Regions from separate parts of the Homo sapiens genome. Here region 1 is linked to region 2. Evidence: promoter capture Hi-C in human tissues and cell types (Jung and others, 2019). All regions are on one chromosome and are shown on one strand. Each heading gives the region's core, a stretch centred on a gene start or on the middle of the fragment in contact. The rest is flanking DNA. Distances are from core to core; before and after follow the strand shown.

Region 1 (2,700 bases), core at 151-2,650, 550 kb before region 2:
TTTTCAATATATGGTGCTGGGATGATTGGATATATACATGCAAAAGAATGAAGGTGGGCCCCTGCCTCATATCATATACAAAAATGAACTAAAAATGAATCATAGACTTAAGTATAAGGTCTAACATTATAAAACTCTTAGGCAAAAACATAGGAGTAAGTTTTTATAATCTTGGATTAGAAAATGGTTTATTAGATATGACACTAAAACACAAGTGATAAAAGAAACAACAGATAAATGCTATTTCATAAAAATTAAAAATATGTGTGCTTCAAAAGACACCTTCAAGAAAATGAAAAGATAAACCATAGCATAGAGGAAAAACATTTGAAAATACATATCTCATTAAGTAACTTGTACCCAGATTATATAAAGAGCTCTTACAGGCCTGTCACAGTGGCTCATGCCTGTAGACCCAGCATTTTGGGAGGCAGAAATCGGAAGATCACTTGAGGCCAGGAGTTTGAGACCAGCTTGGGCAACATGGCAAGCTCCTGTCTCTACAAAAAATCTTTTTTTTAATTAGCCAGGTGTGGTGGTATGTGCCTGTAGTCCTAGCTACTTGGGAGGCTGGGGCAGGAGAATTGCCTGAGCCCTGGAGTTAGAGGATACAGTGAAACATGACTATGCCACTGTGCTACAGGCTGGGCGACTGAGACCCTGTCCTTAAAAAAAGAAATAAAGAAGAAAGAAAGCAAGAAAGAAAGGAAGAAAGAGCTAAAGAGCTTACAACTCAATAATAAAAAGAAAATAAAGCAATTAAAAAATGGCCAAAGGAGCTGAGTAAACTTTCTCCAAAGAAGATATACTAATGGCTGACAAGCACATGAAAAAATATACTCAACATTATTAGCTATCAGGCAAATGCAAATCAAACCACAATGAGATACCATTTCATGCACACTAGGATGGCTAGATAAAAAGACAGATAATAAGTGTTGGTGAGGATGTAGAGAAATTGGAATCCTCATATACTGCTGGTAGTAATGTAAAATGGTGCACCCACTTTAGAAAACAGTTTTGAGAGGTGAGAGCGTGCTGGCAGTCCTCAGAGCCCTCGCTTGCTCTCGGCACCTCCCCTGCCTGGGCTCCTACTTTGGCGGCATTTGAGGAGCCTTTCAGCCCCCCACTGCACTGTGGGAGCCCCTTTCTGGGCTGGCCAAGGCTGGAGCCCACTCCCTCAGCTTGCAGGGAGGTGTGGAGGGAGAGGCACGAGCGGGAACCCGGGCCGCGTGCGGCGCTTGCGGGCCAGCTGGAGTTGCAGGTAGGCGTGGGCTTGGCGGGCCCCCGCACTCGGGACAGCCAGCCAGCCCTGCTGGCCCCGGGCAGTGAGGGACTTAGCACCCGGGCCAGTGGCTGCGGAAGGTGTACTGGGTCCCCCAGCAGTGCCGGCCCACCGGCGCTGTGCTCGATTTCTCGCCGGGCCTTAGCTGCCTTCCTGCGGGGCAAGGCTCAGGACCTGCAGCCCGCCATGCCTGAGCCTCCCACCCACTCCATGGGCTCCTGTGCAGCCCGAGCCTCCCCGACGAGCACCACCCCCTGCTCCATGGCGCCCAGTCCCAGCGACCACCCAAGGGCTGAGGAATGCGAGCGCACAGCGCAGGACTGGCAGGCAGCTCCACCTGCAGCCCTGGTACGGGATCCACTAGGTGAAGCCAGCTGGGCTCCTGAGTCTGGTGAGGACGTGGAGAGTCTTTATGTCTAGCTCAGGGATTGTAAATACACCAGTCAGCACCCTGTGTTTAGCTCAAGGTTTGTGAGTGCACCAATCGACACTCTGTATTTAGCTGCTCTGGTGGGGCCTTGGAGAACCTTTATGTCTAGCTCAGGGATTGTAAACATACCAATCAGCACTCTGTGTCTAGCTCAGGGTTTGTGAGTGCACCAATCGACACTCTGTATCTAGCTGCTCTGGTGGGGCCTTGGAAAACCTTTATGTCTAGCTCAGGGATTGTAAATATACCAATCGGCACTGTGTATCTAGCTCAAGGTTTGTAAACACACCAATCAGCACCCTGTGTTTAGCTCAAGGTTTGTGAGTGCACCAATCCACACTCTGTATCTAGCTGCTCTGGTGGGGCCTTGGAGAACCTTTGTGTTGATACTCTGTATCTAATCTGATGGGGACGTGGAGAACCTTTGTATCTAGCTCAGGGATTGTAAATGCACCAGTCAGCACCCTGTCAAAACAGGCCACTCGGCTCTACCAATCAGCAGGATGTGGGTGGGGCCAGATAAGAGAATAAAAGCAGGCTGCCCGAGCCAGCATTGGCAACCCACTTGGGTCCCCTTCCACAGTGTGGAAGCTTTGTTCTTTGCTCTTTGCAGTAGATGTTGCTACTGCTCACTCTGGGTCCATGCTGCTTTTATGAGCTGTAACACTCACCACGAAGGTCTGCAGCTTCACTCCTGACCCCAGTGAGACCACGAGCCCACTGGGAGGAACGAAAAGCTCCAGACTCGCTGCCTTAAGAGCTGTAACACTCACCGTGAAGGTCTGCAGCTTCACTCCTGAGCCAGCGAGACCACGAACCCACCAGAAGGAAGAAACTCCGAACACATCTGAACATCAGAAGGGACAGACTCCAGACGCGCCACCTTAAGAGCTGTAACACTCACCGCGAGGGTCCGCGGCTTCAATCTTGAAGTCAGTGAGACCAAGAACCCACCAATTCCGGACACAGTTTGTCAGTTCCTCAA
Region 2 (2,914 bases), core at 211-2,710:
AATATCCCTGGATTCCAATGAATTTGTCTTACTTAGTAGACATAGCAACACATATTGTTTTATTTATGTATTTATGTATAAGCAAAGCCTTAACAACTTTTATATTCCAAATACTCAGCACGATTTATTTATTTCCTTTTTAGAAAGAGATGAAACAATGATGCCGTGGAAGGTTAAAAAAAGAGTAACATAAAATGTGCTGGAAACAGAAATTACTTGGAGAAATTACTTGTTTAATTCAAATGAATTAAACGAGATATAGTCTACAAAGAAGTCTGGGCTCCCTATTACTGGTTGATGCTGAAAATCTATCTAAGGAATTCAGAGTAACATTGTCTCCCTTCTATTTGGGTACGTATAAAATAAATGTAGTCTTAAGTATTTTCTAAAAACGAGACCATATTACATGTTTATCATTAAATGTTATTTTTAAAAACATTTGGACAAAATCTTTTGAGTGGCTTCAAATTCACCAAAGATTCCCTAACGTTTTGTGTTTACAAATATATGTATATATTTTATAATATATATTTCTAATATGTAATATATTTATAAATATTTTAAAACATATTTTATACATATAAAATATATATTTTTGCAAATATATATGCTTATTATTAAAACCTATCTTTGTGCGCCTGTTACATAGGGAACTCCTATAAGATACTAGAGGAAACAAACAAGGGGAAGGGGAGGATGGATACCAAGAGAGGAAATTGAATTGTACAAAGGGTTTTTATTAATTCCATCTATTTTTAAAGCCAGAAAGACATACTACCAGCTTGCTGTCTCCCGGCACAAACATGCGCGCGCGCGCACACACACACACAAACACAGACAGGCTACATCAGCACGGGATTCCTGCGATCCCTCCCCGCCCCCCGCAGCCCCCTCCCCGCCCCCCGCAGCCCCCTCCCCGCCCCCCGCAGCCCCCTCCCCGCCCCCCGCAGCCCCCTCCCCGCCCCCCGCAGCCCCCTCCCCTGGCGCAGGCAGCCGCGTCCGTCCTTCCCGCGGTAGCTCCGCGCACTTCCTCGCGACCGCATCACCTACCTTGCTGGGAGCTCAAGACAGATGCCGGACAGGGCTGCTGCTCCGAAGGAAAAGGCTCCCAGGACCAGCAGTAAGAAAACGCAAAGAAAAAAAGGTGGTAGTGAGGCTCCTTTACTTTCCACAACAAGGGGAAGTGTTGAACTCTATGCACTGGGCTGCTCCGCAGCGCGGGTTTCGGAGGAAATAGGCGGCCGAGAGAGCTGCGCCTGCGATGGGAAGTTGGGGGGATTCCCCCAGCCACCCAGCCACCCCCGCCAGGCTCCTCTCTGGTCCCCGCCGCAGCCTTGACAGCTCCCCTGGTCTCCGAGCCCCTCCAGAGCCCTGCTGGTTTCCACCCGGAGCTGGGCTGTGTTGCCACATGCACTTGAGAAATCCTAGCAGTTGCGCAAAGAGTCCCAGAAGTTAGAAAGGGTGATTGTGTGTGAATGTGTAAATATACAGTACAAGAGGCTGGAACAACTGAGTGGGGCCAACCCTCAGACACAGCTCGAGGTTTCAGATTTCATTTGGCAACTGGTAGCTTCACAGGACTCGAGCCGCACTACAGGGGAGGCCGGCAGGAGCCCCGCCCTCCCAAAGCCTGGGTTATCTGAGAGCTGGAGCTACACCGCCTGGCGCCACTGACAGAATGCGCCCTGCCTGGTTCCTCCGCATCTGGCATCGCTCGTTCCTTTCAAGTGCATCATAGATACTTGTTGGCCACAGATCTGGGGCTGTGGGCGCGAGAAGGTTGGTGAATACATGTCTCCTGCCCTCAAGGAGCTCTGCATTTCATTGGCCAAACCCCATACACCGGTTTTACTTGCTTCTACCAACTCTGTCTCGCTAACATTTTATTTCTCCAATTAGAATTACCTGGGCCATTAAAGCAATATTCCTGGAAATGCACATTTAGATGGATGCTCTCTAACTAGAGCCTTAGAGAAATTCAAAGTATAATTACTTTCTTACGGTGGTGTAAGAACTCTCGGAGTTACACAATATGGGACAAAAGGACAAACTAGTAAACATTGTTTTGATGCAGGCCGTCTCTTCCCACCATCACCACAATGTCTGTTTCAAATTGTGATCTTACAGTTCTGGTTACCTGGCATGCTGAGTCAAATTATTTCAAAAAGCTTTGTAAAGATCTCTGTTTTAGAAACCCACTTACAGTGGATCAGTCATGCAATCCTAGCACTTTGGAAGGCTGAGGCAGGAGGATCGCTTGAGCCCAGGGGTTTCAGACCAAAATTGGCAACATAATGAGACTCCTGTCTCTATAAAAAAAAAATTAAAAAAATAAAAAAAAAGTTGGGCGTGGCGGCGTATGTCTGTAGTCCCAGCTACTCAGGAGGCTGAAGCGGGAAAATCCCTTGAGCCCAGGAGGTCAAGGCTGCAGTGAGCTATAATTGTGCCAGCGCACTCCAGCCTAGGTGACGGAGTGACACCCCCGTCTCGAACAATTACTACTGCTACTACTAATAAAAGAAACTCTCTTTTAGAAATCATCACCAGATATCCTTAAGACACAGAATGGGGGTGTCCTCACTAGGGATCTCCAGTGAGAGAGGGATATGGAAGAAGAGCAAATGTTTAGTTTTAGAAACACCAAAAATAAAAGGCTGAGTGGACACTGATATGTTTTTCCTTTTTGTCCTCTTTCTCCAAGTTCTTGGAGAAACGAATCTACCCCATCCCATGCTGAGGTCCTACTATAAACTTGATTTTCTGGTGGGAGAATTCTCAGCCCTTTAATGAATCAAATTAATTTGTGTGGGGAAAAAATTGCGTTTCATATTTCATTTTAAAAATATGTATGGAATTCCTAAGCTAGAAGTAATGTAGCTTATTTTCCAATTGGTGGGAATAAATTACCTTCATC

Evidence for each region. The method cuts DNA at HindIII sites, captures the fragments that hold promoters and counts their contacts. A contact is called where the count stands out against the background at its distance.
Region 1: a fragment that was not itself captured here is called in contact with the fragment with the promoter of ARHGAP24 in region 2 in 1 of the 25 tissues and cell types used here (dorsolateral prefrontal cortex).

Annotation. Positions count from the first base shown.
Region 1 is chr4:86,020,494-86,023,193 of GRCh38, reverse strand. The region is part of intron 13 of MAPK10 (mitogen-activated protein kinase 10); the gene reads left to right. Among named protein-coding and RNA genes, the nearest start is that of MAPK10-AS1, 98 kb to the left of the region's middle. The HindIII fragment of the contact is 3,411 bases long and covers 1-2,700 here.
Region 2 is chr4:85,473,696-85,476,609 of GRCh38, reverse strand. It overlaps ARHGAP24 (Rho GTPase activating protein 24), which reads right to left and starts at 1,460. Exons shown (of 10, transcript NM_001025616.3): 1 at 1,051-1,460. The HindIII fragment of the contact is 7,943 bases long and covers 1-2,914 here.